Regions from separate parts of the Homo sapiens genome. Here regions 2, 3, 4, 5 and 6 are each linked to region 1. The links are contacts of gene promoters, found by promoter capture Hi-C in human tissues and cell types (Jung and others, 2019). All regions are on one chromosome and are shown on one strand. The core of a region is centred on a gene start or on the middle of the fragment in contact, and the rest is flanking DNA. Distances in the headings are between cores, read along the strand shown.

Region 1 (2,617 bases), core at 56-2,555:
TGGATCACCTGAGGTCAGGAGTTCAAGACCAGCCTGGCCAACATGGTGAAACCATCTCTACTAAAAATACAAAAATTAGCTGGTGGTGGCGGGCACCTCTAATCCCAGCTACTCAGGAGGCTGAGTTAGCCAGGAGGTGGAAGCTGCAGTGAGCCAAGACTGCACCACTGCACTCTAGCCTGGGCAACAGAGCCAGGCTCTGTCTCAAAAAAAAAAAAAAGAAAAAAGAAAGAAAAGGAAAAGAAAAGAAAAAGGAAGCAGTTGAATGCAGAATTCTAGATTTTACTGTTTTCCTAATAGTTTACAAGTCTCACTTAAGGTACGACCTGCATGTATTAGCTATTGCATACCGAGTGTTCACACAATGCCTCTCTCACACAGAGTCATGATGTGTCTTGGTATTCAGTCGGCTACACAATCACAATAACTAGTGGAAATGGCATCCGTGGCCTGGGCGCAAACAACTGGCTCCTGAGGACCGTTTAGTCCAAGGGTGGAAGTCGCAGAACCTGGCGCCTAGAGTGGCCTGCGGGCCATTCAGCCCATGGGAGCCAGGATGAGTTGAATTCGCTTCACAAAGCAATGGGGCAGTTTCAACAACCCAGCGCGGCCGCGGCCGAGGGGGCTGTGAGGGGCTGGCTGTCCATCCCCTCCACCACCCAATTTGATGATCCCCACAACCAAGACAGGGCTGAGCTAGCAGAGAGCAACAGTGAGTTCTAATACAGCAAATGCAGCAGACACTGGGTTCTATTCAGGTTTTCTTATTCTCATGTCTATCCCATGAGCATAAAAACGCAATTAACTAGCGTATACGTAGGTTAAGCATTTACTGGGAGCGCAAGCCGAGCCCTTTTATTGGCAGGATGCACAAATGGAACGGCTGGAGAGGCTGCTGCAAGGGGCGCCCCGTCCCCACTCCCCGCTCCCCCGTTTCTTTGCTTCCCGGACGCCGTCCTTTACCCCGCAGTCCGCTCTGCCTGAGACCCCCCGATAGAGGAGCTGCACCCACGCCCAAGACCGATTCACTGGGCGCGGGCGCCCAGGTGACAGAAGCCGGGCCCACCCGCCCCAGCGCGGCCACGTGCCCGCCGGGCCCTCTAGGGACGCGCCCCGCCGCCCCGCATCGCCACAGTCACCTCCGGCTCGGGCTCAGGCTCCAGTTCGGGCTCAGACCGCCGCTTCTCCGGCCGCACGCTCGGCGCCGCCGTGCGCCCCGCACCCCGCGAACCCGCCATGCCCCACCGCGCGCCGGCCGCCACCCGCACAGCCGCTTCCGACAGCGACCGGGCCGCGTGCGCAGGAGGACGCGCCCCGCCCAGCCCGGCCCCGATTGGCGGGTGGAGGGAAGGGGGTGGGACCAACACGCGCAGGCGCGCGGCTGGGCCGGGGACCAGGGCGGGGTCGGGGCCTGCGTGCTCGCGCCGGGGGTGACGCGGGAGGGCGGCAGCGGCGGCGGCGGGAGCGCGCCCGTTGCAAGATGGCGGCGGCCATGCTGGGCCCCGGGGCTGTGTGTGCGCAGCGGGCGGCGGCGCGGCCCGGAAGGCTGGCGCGGCGACGGCGTTAGCCCGGCCCTCGGCCCCTCTTTGCGGCCGCTCCCTCCGCCTATTCCCTCCTTGCTCGAGATGGATCTGCCCGTGGGCCCCGGCGCGGCGGGGCCCAGCAACGTCCCGGCCTTCCTGACCAAGCTGTGGACCCTCGTGAGCGACCCGGACACCGACGCGCTCATCTGCTGGAGCCCGGTGAGGGCAGCGCGCGGGCGCGGGGCCCGTGGGGACCGGGAGGGAGCAGGGCCGCGGCGGACGGCGCGGGAGGGCTGCGGGGAGGGGCCCTGCCGCACTTCAGCTTACGCGCGGTGAGCCTGCCCTGCCCCCGCCAGAGAAGGGCGGCGGGTCCCGAGCCTGCTCAGACCCAGAGCCTTAAGTTGGGAAAGCGGCTACGAGACCCACACTCGGTTCAACCCCTGCCCCAGCGAAGTTTCCCTGGGATGGGGAGAATGGGGCGTCTCTTGTATTGGGCTTCTGCTAACTGTTGGGCGGTTGCGGAAGTGTCCGCGCTTAGGGCAAGCACCCGGCTTCGCCAGCGGACGCTATGCCCCAGAGGACATCGGCGTCCCCAGGGGACAGCCTACGGGGTGCTGGGTCGGCAACTATTAGGAGAAAGTCAGGACTTGGCACGTGAAGTGGAGGGCGTTGCTGTAGTGGAACAGGAAAGGCAGTGGAAACAGTAAGACGTCATGAAGCTTCAGGTTGATCTCAAGCCCGTTTCCGAATCCCAAATCTGGGTTTCCCAAGAGGAGTTTTGTTTTTCATTCCTTATGGGGCATCTTTATTCGTGTTTCTGTCTTCAGTTGCCTGGCAGCAGGCTTGTTTACATGGTCCGACCCTGCAAGACCGGACAGCTCCGGTTTGCAGAAGTAAATCAGTGATTGTCTGGAGTTGGAGATCAGAATCTGCTGTTCACATCCCGGCTGTGACGTCGTGTCCGGTGAGGGGCAGAGCCACCGCCTGCGGCTGGCAAGTGATGACCTGAAGAAGGGCCACACTGGCCGAGTGGGGTGACTCTTGCTTGTAATCCCAGCACTTTGGGAGGCGGAGGCGGGTGGATCACTTGAGGC
Region 2 (2,617 bases), core at 62-2,561, 500 kb after region 1:
CAGTAAAGCAGGTACTGTTGTGCCTGTTGTACAGTGATGACAACTGAGACTACAGGATGAGCTCAAACTTACAGAACCCAAGTTTTAGAACAACAGGTAATCGAATTCCAGGGACCAAGTCTAGCCACTGGCTGTCCACCGGCACTCACAGCATGTTCACCCACAGCCCTCAGCATTCAACTGCTGCCTGATACTCACCAACCACAGCTCTGTTGGCTGAGGAGATAACCTTCTTGGAGCCGGAGGGCAGCTTCACACGGGTCTTCTTGGTCTCAGGGTTGTGGGAGATAACGGTGGCATAGTTCCCTGATGCCCGGGCCAGCTTGCCACGGTCTCCAGGCTTCTCCTCCAGGCAGCACACGATTGTACCCTCAGGCATGGTGCCCACAGGGAGCACATTGCCAATGTTGAGCTGGGCTGCAAGGGGAAGCAGCATCAGGCCGTCAGCACAGTAAGAAACAATGCGAACCCCCTCGCTCTAGGCAACCCGCGAAGTTGCGAGCACAGCATTCAACATCCAGCCTCCCGGTACAACTCTCTCGGCACCCACCGGTGGCCACTGGTCTGGCCACGCGGATGTCCCCACCTGAAGCTTCTGCCTGCGAGGTTCCCATATCGGCTTAGGACGTTAACTCCTCAGGCAACACCCAGACCCCTCCCCACCCCGACCTTCCTTCCCCGCCGCGATGCTAACCCTTCTTGCCGCAATACACAAACTGGCCCGTGTGAATGCCCTCGGCGGCAATGAACAGCTCCGTCCGCTTCTTAAACCGATACGGATCCCGGAAGACCACCTTGGCGAGGGGCGCGCCGCGGCCCGGGTCGTGGATGATGTCCTGTGGGCAGAGGCGGCGTGAGTGCGGCGTTCCGGCCGGGCGTCCCTTCCCCTCCCGCCCCGGCCAGCGTTCCGCACCTTGACGATGCCCTTGATGTAGCCGTGCCGCTCAGCGAAATCCACGGCGCGCAGGCGCGCAGCGCCTTTACGGTGCTTCACGTGCGCGCGGAACACAGACCCGGCGCCCTTCCTCTGTCCACGGATCACACGGCCCATGGCGACGGGTCCTGGGGGCGACTCACGATTAGCGCGGCCGGGCGGCCCGGGTACCCCCGCCAGCCCGGCTTTCCGGGACCCCGCCCCCGAGGCCGCCGCGCCCACCACTCCCTACCCTCTCCGCGGGCGCCCGCACCGGCATCCTCTCAGGAGGGCCGGTCCGGGTCTCAGCGCGCCTCACGGAAGAGGATGGCGGCGGATACTGCCCATGCCGCAAGGCCGCAAGGATGACCTACCTGTTCACCAGCGCGGCCGAAAGAGGAAACACGGCGTCAGCGAGCGGCCTTATCTTCCGGGGCGGGGCCCAGGGCCGCGACACCTTCCGGGCGCGCCACGGCCAGCCTAGCGCGGTGCACGCCGGGGCTTGTAGTCACCAGCGGCCGCCGGCCCCGCCTACTTCTCCTCCTCCAGGGCCCCCGCGCAGGCGCACCAGGAGACGCGGCTGAAGGTGTCCTGGTGTGCGTGGGCTCGGAAGGAGGGTGCAGGAGTGCTCGGCTTTCACCGGGGTCTCCGGGAGGGCAGGTGTTTTCTGAGTGGCCGAGGAGGCGCCAAGTGGTTGAGTGACCTGTCCAGGGTGTCACAGAGCGACCCACTCCGGGCCACGGGGTCTGGGGCTCCCGGCTTGCCTGGTGAGGGGCTTCCGTGTAGGCCGAGGGGGTTCTCGCTGGTGCAGAGCAGGAGATGGGCAGGGGAGACGCGTGGACCCACTCGTGGAACGTCATGGTTTGCAGGTGGCAAATGTCCGTCTCCCTGATGAACGGGCGCTTCTGGACGCGGGGACCTTATCCACTGTAGGCCCTTGGAGAGGTCGGGCGTCGAGGAGAGGAGCCCCGGGATCCTTGCCGAGGGTGAGGGCCGGCCGGCCCAGGAAGTGGGGAGGGCCAAGCTGGAGGGTCCCGGGTCGAGGAAGAAGGAGCGGGGATGGGCTGGGTCACATGCTGCGGAGTGGACGAATAATGGGAGACTGGACCGTACCCTGACCAGAACCCTGTGCGGGAGAGGTGGGGAAGGAGCAAGAAATGGAGGCTGGGAGGGGCTGTGGGGGCCTGAGCTGGAAAGAGTCAGCCCGACTGGGGGTGTCCTGCGGTACGTGCTGTGGAGAGGGGCTTCGCGGAATCGGGCCCCTAACGGGTGGGACCCCGAGGCCGCGGGTGGGGGATGGTGGGGAAGAGGTTTTCCAGGAGAGAGTCCCTGGCTGAGTGAGCACTGTCGAGCACACGCGAGGCCGTGGGTGGGGAGGCAGCAAGGAGGTGAAGGCGGGGGTCCCAGTGGGCGGGAGAGGCTTGCTGTCGGTACTGGGAGGTGGGGTGTTTCCTAGACCCTGCAGGGGCTGAGGCAGGGTTGACATCGTGAGAAGGAGACAGGAGAGGGTGGAAGGGTGTCCTGTGCCCGCTGTTGCTCACAGGGGAGAGGAGGGGCTGCTGCAGGAGGCCCTCCCCTAGGGTCGGCAGGGGGATGGAGGAGGAGCTGCCCGGTGGGGACTCAGGAAGCAGCACAGCCCACAGCTAGGGCCAGGGGCTGAGGGGCAGGACTGGACCCTGGGGGCAGGGTGAGGGGTTCTGGGGT
Region 3 (2,617 bases), core at 50-2,549, 460 kb after region 1:
CCGGTAGAGCGCCCGCTGCTGGGGGCCCAGCTGCCGCCCCTCCGCCTGAGAGAAGTACACGGCCACATCCTGGAAGGTCAGCGGCATCTCCTGCAACAAAACATCGCCGCTGCCCAGGCCATGCCCACGGGGCAGCAGCCTGCACTAAAAGGGCCCTGACCTGGTGGGGCCCCACTACCCAGGGCCCTGCTGTGGTCAGTATGAACTGTGTATCAGCAGGTCCCTGATGGGGCAGCTGAGAGCGCTGAGGACCAGCCAACTTCAGCTACACGGGGACCCAGCTGAGCTCAGAGCCCCTCTCCCTGCAGGAGGGCGAGTCTACCTCTCAGAACCCTTTCCTCACGGTTGCTATGAGCCCCTGGCTGGCCTTACCAGTTGCCGGGCTCACGGCTCCAGAGGAGAGTAGCTTCTGACTGGGATGGGGATGAAGATGAAGAGGTGGGCAGGAAGGAGGGTTAACTCACCTGGTGCCCTGGAAGCTGGAATGTGGCTGCCATTCTGTGTGCATGGGCTGCTGTGGTTTCCAAGAGAAGACAGGAGACTGCCCTGGCCTGAAGTCTCCCCGAACTTACCTTCAGTGGGGAGAACTCAGGCTCAGCCCCATTCAACCAGGGGTGTGGAAGGATGGCCAGGAGGCAGAAGCTGATTGCTGCTGTGGCCTCCTGGGTCGCGGGAGGCAGGTCACTATGCAGCACGGGCCGACGTGCCCTACTGCTCAGTGACTCCTGAAATCCCAGAACGGCCAGAGCCAGAGCCCGGGGGGATCCAGGGACGCCCGGCTAAGGGGTGAAAGCTGGCAGTTCCCGTGGTCCAGACCTGCTGAAGGCCCTGGAAATGGGGTGCAGGGCCGTTCTACCTGCCTGGCCAACCTGGGGCAAAGAGCCACGTGAGGGTGCAGCCTCACCAAGGCTGAGGACGTGAGAAGGAGGCCGCGGGGATGCTGCCGAAGGCCCCAGGCTCCGGGGAGAGGCCGGAAGCCAGCTGTGGTCCTCAGTCCAGCCTTCTAGGGCCGCGCCGCGGTCGCCTCCTCCCGGCCTCTGCAGCCCGTCGGTGGCTCCCGCGGCACCCAGAACAGGCTCCTCCTGGACTGGCCGCCGCCTCCCCGCGCCCTCCCCGCGCCCTCCCCGCCTGCCTGCCCGCTTGGCGCTCCTTCCTGGTCCGACACTGCCCCACCTGTTTGCTCGACCCGGGGAAGCCACCGAGGAAGCGCCGAGGAGCTGCGCAGTCGCACCGAGCCCGGAACGGACCCTCCCACAGAACCGGGTCCAGAGCCGGGGAGGGGGCGGGCTAGGATGAAGAGGGCGGGCCGGGCCGAGCTGCGCACACGCAGGCTTCCCCGCCCCCTGCGGGGCCTCAGTACGCCTCCGAGAACGCCGGGAACCGGAAGCCAGCCGCGGTTCCGCCCGGATTCTTCCGGGGCCGCTCTGGGATGACTGGAGGCCTGCGCCGTCTATGGTCGGGGAGGGGGAGAGCCCACGGCAGCTGAGCGGAGGGTCTGGCGCGGTGACGCTGCGCATCCGGGCCGCGCCGCGCTCGCCCCGACCCTAAACCCTCACCTGAACCCTAACCCCGCTGGGCTCCCGGCTCCCCCGTCGGTCACCATACATCGTGTGTCCCGATTCACCATAACCACCAGAAAGTCGCTTATGAAGATGTTACAATTATCGGGGCTCAGAACACAACGCCCCAAAATGAAGGCCTGGGAGGCAGTTTCCCTCTGACCTTCCCAGGCCTCCAGTCTCAGTTCTTTTCTCCCGCGAGGCTCCTCACAGAGTGAATCCCTTTTACCCAAGGCGAGTCCCAGAGGCCAGACCCCCAAAGCCAGCCACAAAACCTAAAAACACGACTCTGATGTTCCCCCCGCTTTTCTGTGTGAAAACTGGCGGTAAAGGCCGGGCGTGGTGGCGGGCGTCTGTAGTCCCAGCTACTCCGGAGGCTGAGGCGGGAGAATCGCTTGAACCCGGGAGGCGGAGGTTGCAGTGAGCCGAGATCGCGCCACTGCACTCCAGCCTGGGTGACAGAGCGAGACTCCATCTCAAAAATAAATAATAAATAAATAAATAATCCATTTATTTGCCTTTTCTCCAAAAATCTGCCTTTTATGAGTTGGCTTTCAGTGAACCTTCAGAGGGCAAAGAGGAACTTTCCCTTTGGCCCCTACACAATAAAGCATGGTTGAAAAAATAGCACTTGATAAAGGTGAGGAGACCAGCTTAGGAGCAGGGGGAGAAGGAAAGGAAAGCCAAGCCATCTTGTCACCCAGAATATAGTGTAGGCCCTGTACACTGTGTTAGAATCAAGGCAGAAATTTTATATCTGAACTTGAGACGATCAACGAGGATGGAGAATGTCTAGAAGTCTAAAGCACCATGCAAAGTCACACATGATTAAGAAGATGCCTTACATTATTAATATCAGTGCTGGGGAGATTGTGGAGAATTACGCACTGCTATGCTTGAGGAAGCGTGTTTAGTACAATGTTGAAAATGAATTAAGCTGTACATAAAGAGCCTTAAACACTTCAATTAATCTAGGAATCTATCCTATGGAAATAACAAAAATGACAAAGAGAAGGGTGCCCATTCCAGAGTTTGTTGTGTGTGTGGTTTTTTTTAAA
Region 4 (2,617 bases), core at 86-2,585, 430 kb after region 1:
GATGGAGGAAAAGGCTTGAGCTCTGACTGAAGGCCTTCCCACACTGATTGCATTTATGGGGCTTCTCTCCAGTGTGAATTCTCTCATGCTGAATAAGGCTGGAGCTTCGACTGAAGGCCTTCCCACAGTGACTGCATTCATGCGGCTTCTCTCCAGTGTGAATTCTCTGATGCTGAGTTAACTGGGGGCTCTGGCTAAAGCCTCTTCCACATTCATTACACTTGTAGGGTTTCTCTCCTGTGTGAATGATCCGATGTTGAATAAGAGTTGAGCTTCGACTGAAAGCCTTCCCACACTCACCACAGCCAAAGGGTTTTTCTCCAGTGTGAATTCTCCGATGAAGACGGAGGTGAGAATTGAGTCCAAAAGTTTTCCCACATTCATCACATTTAAATGGTTTATTTCCAGTGTGAATGTGATGGTGCAGAACAAGATTTGAGCTGTGAGTAAAGGCTCGCCCACACCGGCCACATTCGTACGGCTTCTCCCCAGTGTGACTTCTCTGGTGTCTACTTAGGTCTGAATTATATTTGAAGGTTTTGCTGCATATATCACATTTAAAGACCCTCTCTCCTGTTTTATTTCTTTGAAGTCTAACAACATTTTGGTCCAGATTCAAGTTTCTATCAAATGCACTACACTCTTGGGTTCTTTCTCCCAAAGATCTTTCCCTGCCCACGGTAGCTTCTGTTAAAACTCTCTTGTGAATATTGGGTTTGTTCAAACTCTGCCCGGCAGAATTTCCCACGCGCTCTTTGAGTTTGCCCTCACGGCCCCATGCTTCCCGAAACTCAGCGGCCTGTGCATTATCCCTTAAGAGTCTTCTTGATACAAATTCTGGGGTTTTTACTTCTTCGGAAAATTTTTGGTTTAAAATAGATAGTTCCTTCTTGGTCCCAACCTCAGAATCTGTTAAAGAAAAATATAAATGAGTTACTAGAGAAAACCTTCCATCAGGCATAATGTCCATAATGTGGTAGAAGCTCCTATAAACCATCATGCAGAAGGCAGATGCTCCAATAGGAAAAGATGTGAAAGGCAGAATTCAGAAGTAAAGATGGGATGGCCAATCAACAGGATAAAAATATTCAAGTTCATTAGTTATCAAAGTAGTCAAATCAAAACAAATTACGATTTTTCACCTATCAAATTGGCAAATTATTCAACAAATATTTAGAAGGCCAGGCGTGTTCTAGGTAAGGAATATACAGGAAGGTAAATATAGTCTCTGATCTCATGAAGCTTATGTTCTACTCAATTAGATAGCAAGTAAGTTCTTAAAAATAATGATACACCATGTGACAGAAACTGTGTAAATGTGTTATTGGCCCCAACCTAGTCTACATGGTCAGAGAAAATGCCAGGAGTGAGATTCAAGCTGAAACCTGACAAAAGAAGTAAGTTAGCAGTGACAGACAGGAAGGCCTGGGCCTGGCTGTGATGCACAAAAATATCCACCGAGTTCCTGATGTAAAGAATCTGGGCCAGGGCCAGGCGCGGTGGCTCACGCCCGTAATCCCAGCACTTTGGGAGGCCGAGGTGGGCGGATCACGAGGTCAGGAGATCGAGACCATCCTGGGTAACACGGTGAAACCCCGTCTCTACTAAAAATACAAAAAAATTAGCCAGTCGAGGTGGCAGGCGCCCGTAGTCCCAGCTACTCAGGAGGCTGAGGCAGGAGAATGGCGTGAACCCAGGAGGCGGAGCGAACCCGGGAGGCAGAGCTTGCAGTGAGCTGAGATCGCGCCACTGCACTCCAGCCCGGGCAACAGAGCAAGACTCCGTCTCAAAAAAAAAAAAAAAAAAAAAAAAAGAATTAAAGCAACAATCATGCCGTGTACTGTTGGTGGGACTGTAAATAAATGACCTTTTTTTGAGATAGTGTCTTGCTCTGTTTCCCAGGCTGGAGTGCCACGGTGCAACCACAGTTCACAGCAGCCTTGACCTCTCAGGCTCAAGCAATCTTCCTGCCTCAGCCTCCCAAGTAGCTGGGACTACAGGTGCAGGCCACTGTGCCTAGCCAAAATATAACTTTTTTAAAAAGCTGACAATATGTAGCCAAAAAATTGATATCTCACACACCCTTTGTCCCCCAAACTACTCCCCTAGGATCCATCCTAAGTGGACTGCCATATGTACGTTGAAATGACTACAATGATGCTCGCTGCATTTTGTAATTGGGGGGAAACAAGGAAGAACCCAAATGTCCAAAAACGGGGCTGTTTAAACCCAGTAAAAACTATTCACATAATGGAATACAATTCTACCATTATTATAATAGAAAGATATATAATTAAATGAAAAGCTCATATTACAAAGAGAAGAATCAGGTTCTAAAATTATATGCACAGCATAAACCAACTTTTATTGAACATAGATATATATGTAAGATAGTTGCTATTTCTTCCTTAACTGTTTAGTACAAGTCGGTGAAGCCATCTGGGCTTGGCATTTTTTCTGAGGAAGGGTTTTAAATTATGAGTCAATTTATTTAGCACTCAAACAATTATGTATCCACCACCACCTTTTTTCTTTCTTTCTTGTTTTTTTTTTCTTTGAGACAGAGTTTCACTCTTGTTGCCCAGACTGGAGTGCAATGGCACGATCTCGGCTCACC
Region 5 (2,617 bases), core at 58-2,557, 390 kb after region 1:
GCTGCGTTTCCGAAGCTGCGCAGCGCCCACAGCAGCTGCTGGTGGGAAGCGGCTCGGAACACACCCACAGCTGCCAAGGAGCCGGCTGCACGTTTTAAAATAAAAAACGTCCTGGGCCCCAAAATGCACAGCCCGCCTCTCTCGCCGCCCTGGGCACGGAACGCCGCCTCCACCCACAGCACTCCAGCAACTGGGAAGCAACCGGGAAGCAACCGAGGGAATTCCAGCTCGGGGGGCAACCGGGAGGGGAAGGCTCCGAGCGCCGGAGCCCCAGCCCGCGCCTGCCGCAGAGGCGAGGCCGCAGAGCCCACCCGCAGGCGGCCATGACCCCACCTGGAGACGCCCATGTCCGCTCCCTGCGCCCCGGGGACAAAGCCCGAGGCTGCACCGCAGCGCACCGCAGCCCTGCACCCGGGCCGCCCTTCAGGACGCGGGCACCAGACCCGACCGGCGGGCATCCACCTTGTCCCCACTCCGACGGCGCCCGGGAATGCGGCCGGTGCCCCGAGCTCAGGCTGGGCACACGTGCACCCACACCCACCACGGGCGGGGTCCCCTCACACCCCCCTCGGGCAGGGGCACACTCACACCCATCTAGGGCCGGGCACACTCACACCTCCCTCGGGCAGGAGCACACTCACACCCCCCTGGGGCCGGACACACCCACACTCCCCTCGGGCCGGGCACACTCATACCCACCGTGGACAGGGGCACACTCACACTCACTCTGGACAGGGGCACACCCACACCCACATTGGGGCCGGGCACACTCACACCCACCTAGGGCAGGGACACAACTCACTCTGGACAGGGTACAGTCACACCCACTTCGGGCCGGGCACACGCGAACTCACCCACCCTCACACTCCCAGCCCGGCCCGTCGGCGCGCACCCGGGCCCCGCGCGGCCTCGGCCCCTCGAGCCTCCGCGCCCCCCGCCCGGCCGGGCCCCGCACACCCACGCCCCCTCCCTCCACGGCCCAGTCACAGCCCCTCCCGCCGCTGCAGTCGCCGCGGGCCTGGATTCCTTGCGCTGCCGGGCCTGGAGCCTCCGCCGAGGCTGGGCCAGGACCACGGGGACCGCAGCGCCGGCCCCTCCGCCATCTTCTTGGCCCGCGCCGCCCACCGCCCGTTGCCCGCGCTCTCACCGGCCGGCTGCGCGCGGGCCGCGCCGCCACAGTCCCTCATCCCGGCCCGCGCGACGCGCGTGAGCCAGCCGCCGCTCCCCGGCCTCTCTGCTGCTCCGCCGCTGCTGCCGCGGCAGCCCGTGCTGTCGGCGTCCTCCGCCGCCGCCGCCGGCCCAGTGCGCGGCGGCCGCGCGTCCTCCCGTCACCAAGCGCAACCCCCCGCCTCCGGCTCCGCCCCCGCGGCGGTCACTACCCGCCGCCAGGGGGCACTGCCTCGCGAGGCCGCATCACGCATGCGCTGGCGCGCGGCATGCCGGGAGCCGGAGTCCCGCGGAGGGCGCGCGCGGCATGCTGGGAGCCGCCTGGCCCCGCCCCGTCGCCGCGCCAGAGGCCTCCCGCGCGGACCTACCCTGTGAGTTAGCGGTGTCTTCCCGTCTCTTTCGGTGCAGAGCAGTTACCATCTGACACGTCTCGGTGTGGTTTGGTGTAATTTTGCCCTCTCAAACCACGTTGGGCTTCCCGAGTCTGAGATTTCACTTTTCTTCGACTCTAGAAATACAGCCATTCTTCTCAAAACGTGGGCTGCCCTGTTCCTCAGTCCTTCTTGTGGCGGGCTCGTGTCTCTTCACCTCCTGTTATTCTCACCTTTTTAGTCCTGTCACTTTTACTCGGTAATTCACTCAGCTGCAGCTCGACTAGTGCTCTATTCGGCGTTTTCTAATCTGCGTTCAGCCTGGTTTTCTAGATTCTCTTAGTGCCAGGTGCGTTTCTGGAAATTGAATCTGACTGGCATTTCTGGAGAAACGGAGGCTAAACAGCCTGAAGCTTCGATAGTAGAAGACAGGGGCGCACACCCTTCAGTCCTGGACATTCCCTGGGTCCTCAACTGTGAGAAGCCGCAAAGGGCTGAAAGGCCCCCGTCAAAAGTCATCCGTGGAGCTCCACCTCCTGCCCTGCAGCTCAGTCGCCTTGCAGGGACTCTCCCGCCTCAGGAGATCTCCCGTCGGGCTGTCTCGCCGCCCGCGCTTCCCTGTTGGGCCGTCGTCACACTTCACTCTTCACTCTTATACACAGGGCTCTGCTTTTTCGCCTCCCGCTCCCTCTCCACTGTATTCACTTAGAAAACCCAACTGGGCGAGCCCAACCCTTCTCCTCCATGACTGCTGAAGAAAATCACACATCCAGGCTGACTGCCTTCACCTTAAACTTGTGACAACACACTGGCGGCGAGCACTTCCCACCCCCGTGACCACACACTGGCGGCGACCATTTCCCACCCCTGTGACCACGCACTGGCGGCGAGCACTTCCCACCCCCGTGACCACACACTGGCGGCGACCATTTCCCACCCCCGTGACCACGCACTGGCGGCGAGCACTTCCCACCCCCGTGACCACGCACTGGCGGCGAGCACTTCCCACCCCGTGACCACACACTGGCGGCGACCATTTCCCACCCCCGTGACCACGCACTGGCGGCGAGCATTTCCCA
Region 6 (2,617 bases), core at 49-2,548, 320 kb after region 1:
GCTGGTCTTGAATTCCTGGCCTCATGATCCACCGCCTCAGCCTCCCAAAGTTGTTGGGATTACAGGCGTGAGCCACCGCGCCTGGCCATATTGTCCTTTTTATATATTCTCAAATGGGATTGGCTAAAATTTTGTTAAGAATTTTTACATCCATATTCATATTCATTTTTGCATCTATTTTCTTCTTGTAACATCTTTGGTTTTGCTATCAGAGTAATACCAGCATAACAAAATGAGAAGTATTCCCTCCTCTCAAATTCCTGGGCGAGTTTATATAGAATTGCTATTATTTCTTCCTTAAATGTGTGGCAGAGATTCCAGTGAAGCCAGATGGGCATGTAGTTTCTTTGTGGGAAGGTTTTCAATTACACATTGAATCTATTTAATAGATACAGAGCTGAGCAGGCTCTAAAAATTTCTTCTTACGTGAGTATGAATGGTTTGTCTTTCAAGGAACTTGCCCATTTCATATAAAATTAATCACATTTGTTGGCATAAGTTATTATACCATACTATTCCTTTATATCTTCTTAAGAGCAACAGACTCTGTAGCTATGCCACATCTTTCATTTTTGACATTGATATAAAAATGTCTTGCTTTTTTCACTTTTCTGGCTAGAAGCTTATCGATTTTACTGACTGCCTCAAAAAGACAGCTTAATCGTTTTTTTTCTATTTTTCTGTTTTCATTAATTTCCACTTTGATGTTTGTTTCCTTTCTTTTGCATCCTTTAGACTTAATTTGCTTTCCTTTTTCTAATTTCCTAAGCTAGAAGCAGAGTTCAGTGATTTGTACATTTAAAAAAAAAATTTAGGGCCGGGCGTGGTGGCCCACGCCTGTAATCCCAGCACTTTGGGAGGCCGAGGTGGGTGGATCACGAGATCAGGAAATTGAGACCATCCTGGCCAATACTGTGAAACCCCATCTCTACTAAAAATACAAAAAAGTTAGCCAGGCGTGGTGGCGGGCGCCTGTAGTCCCAGCAACTCGAAAGGCTGAGGCAGGGGAATGGCGTGAACCTGGGAGGCAGAGCTTGCAGTGAGCTGAGATCGTGCCACTGCACTCCAGCCTGGGCGACAGTGAGAGACTCCGTCTCAAAAAAAAAAAATTTTTTTTTAGGTATTTAGTATTATAAAATACCCCTCTGAGTACAGCTTTCATGATATCCGACAAGTTTTGATATGCTGTATTTTCATTTTCATCCCGTTCAAAGAGTTTTGAGATGGAGTCTCACTCTGTCACCCAGGCTGGAGTGCAGTGGTGGGATCTTGGCTTGCTGCAACCTCCACCTCCCAGGTTCAAGCGATTCTCCTGCCTCAACCTCCCCAGTAGCTGGGATTACAGGCATATGCCACCACACCTGGCTAATTTTTTTGTATTTTTAGTAGAGATGGGGTTTCACCATGTTAGCCAGGCTGGTCTCAAACTCCTGAGATCAAGGGATCCTCCCACCTTTGCCTCCCAAAGTGCTGGGATTACAGGCGTGAGCCATCACGCCCAGCCTCAGAAAGCTTTCTAACCTTTCTTTTGATTTCTTCTTTGACTAATGGAACATATACTCAGTAACTAATCATCTTCCAGATATTTTTTATTGGTTTCTAATTATGTTTTTCTCAGAGAACATAATTTATATGATTTGAATTTGTTCAAGTTTATTGATGCTTTTTATGGTCCCCTAAAATGGTCTATCCTGGTAAATGTCCCGTGTGCACTGGAAAAGAACGTGCTGCCGGGTGAAGTGCGTATAAAGCCAATCGGATCAGGCTGGTTGATGGTGCTGATACTAATTTCTGTTCTACTTGTTCTATCCATCACTGAGAAACAGGTCAGGAGAGTCCCAACTACAACTGTGGATTTGTCTACTTCTCTTTGCACTATCAGTTTTTGCTTCATGTATTTTATAGCTCTGTTATTAGGTGCATACACATTTACAGTGTCTTCTTGATGAATGAACTCTTTTATCATGAAGTATCTTTATCCTGGTTGTTTCCTTTGCTCTGAAATCAGTACATTTGATATTACAGTAACTCCGGATTGCTTTACATCAGAGTTAGAATTGTGTAACATTTATCCTTCTTTTACTTATAACCTATTTATTTATTTAAATTTAAAGAGGGTGGCAAGGCACAGTAGCTCATGTCTACAATCCCAGCACTTTGGGAGGCTGAAGCAGGAGGATCCCTTGAGGCCAGGAGTTCAAGACCAGCCTGGGCAACATAGCGAGACCCTGTCTCTATAAAAAAATTAGCCAGACATGGTGGGGTGCACTTGTATTCCCAGCTACTCGGGAAGACGAGGCAGGAGAATCGCCTGAATCTGGGAGGTGGAGGTTGCAGTGGGCCGAGATTGCACCATTGTACTCCAACCTGGGTGACAAGAGCAAAACTCCATGTAAAAAAAAAAAAAAAAAAGGAGGATGAGGCCAGAGGATTCCTTGAACCCAAGAGGTCAAAGTTGCAGTGAGCCACGGCTGCACCACTGCACTCCAGACAGGGCAACAGAGTGAAGTGAGCCACGGCTGCGCCGCTGCACTCCAGCCAGGGCGACAGAGTGAGGTGAGCCACGGCTGCGCCGCTGCACTCCAGCCAGGGCGACAGAGTGAGGTGAGCCACGGCT

The links. Contacts are between HindIII fragments. The study calls those that stand out against the background at their distance.
Region 2: a contact is called between the fragment with the promoter of RPL8 here and the fragment with the promoter of BOP1 in region 1, in 3 of the 25 tissues and cell types used here (lymphoblastoid cells, small bowel and spleen).
Region 3: the fragment with the promoter of ZNF251 here is called in contact with the fragment with the promoter of BOP1 in region 1 in 5 of the 25 tissues and cell types used here (dorsolateral prefrontal cortex, liver, lymphoblastoid cells and 2 more).
Region 4: a contact is called between a fragment that was not itself captured here and the fragment with the promoter of BOP1 in region 1, in 1 of the 25 tissues and cell types used here (dorsolateral prefrontal cortex).
Region 5: a contact is called between the fragment with the promoter of ARHGAP39 here and the fragment with the promoter of BOP1 in region 1, in 4 of the 25 tissues and cell types used here (dorsolateral prefrontal cortex, heart left ventricle, heart right ventricle and 1 more).
Region 6: a contact is called between a fragment that was not itself captured here and the fragment with the promoter of BOP1 in region 1, in 2 of the 25 tissues and cell types used here (dorsolateral prefrontal cortex and heart right ventricle).

Annotation. Positions count from the first base shown.
Region 1 is chr8:144,290,133-144,292,749 of GRCh38, forward strand. BOP1 (BOP1 ribosomal biogenesis factor) reads right to left here and starts at 1,306. Exons shown (of 16, transcript NM_015201.5): 1 at 1,140-1,306. The coding sequence starts at 1,238. HSF1 (heat shock transcription factor 1) reads left to right here and starts at 1,472. Exons shown (of 13, transcript NM_005526.4): 1 at 1,472-1,742. The coding sequence starts at 1,626. RefSeq lists silencers at 1,050-1,549, 1,660-1,819 and enhancers at 1,951-2,607, 2,210-2,269. The HindIII fragment of the contact is 19,250 bases long and covers 1-2,617 here.
Region 2 is chr8:144,791,079-144,793,695 of GRCh38, forward strand. It overlaps RPL8 (ribosomal protein L8), which reads right to left and starts at 1,312. Exons shown (of 5, transcript NM_001317782.2): 1 at 914-1,312; 2 at 695-836; 3 at 199-417. The coding sequence starts at 1,051. MIR6850 (microRNA 6850) reads right to left here and starts at 913; the gene lies at 853-913. RefSeq lists a silencer at 1,014-1,233 and an enhancer at 2,404-2,617. The HindIII fragment of the contact is 17,129 bases long and covers 1-2,617 here.
Region 3 is chr8:144,754,232-144,756,848 of GRCh38, forward strand. ZNF251 (zinc finger protein 251) reads right to left here and starts at 1,300. Exons shown (of 5, transcript NM_138367.2): 1 at 1,174-1,300; 2 at 465-572; 3 at 1-90. The coding sequence starts at 497. All of the region lies in intron 2 of LOC107986986 (a long non-coding RNA gene), which reads left to right. The HindIII fragment of the contact is 22,211 bases long and covers 1-2,617 here.
Region 4 is chr8:144,722,474-144,725,090 of GRCh38, forward strand. ZNF251 (zinc finger protein 251) reads right to left here. Exons shown (of 5, transcript NM_138367.2): 5 at 1-909. Among named protein-coding and RNA genes, the nearest start is that of ZNF251, 32 kb to the right of the region's middle. The HindIII fragment of the contact is 3,424 bases long and covers 1-2,617 here.
Region 5 is chr8:144,684,539-144,687,155 of GRCh38, forward strand. It overlaps ARHGAP39 (Rho GTPase activating protein 39), which reads right to left and starts at 1,308. Exons shown (of 12, transcript NM_025251.3): 1 at 1,148-1,308. RefSeq lists enhancers at 1-400, 1,014-1,625. The HindIII fragment of the contact is 13,771 bases long and covers 1-2,617 here.
Region 6 is chr8:144,609,615-144,612,231 of GRCh38, forward strand. The region is part of intron 1 of ARHGAP39 (Rho GTPase activating protein 39); the gene reads right to left. Among named protein-coding and RNA genes, the nearest start is that of ARHGAP39, 75 kb to the right of the region's middle. The HindIII fragment of the contact is 3,122 bases long and covers 1-2,617 here.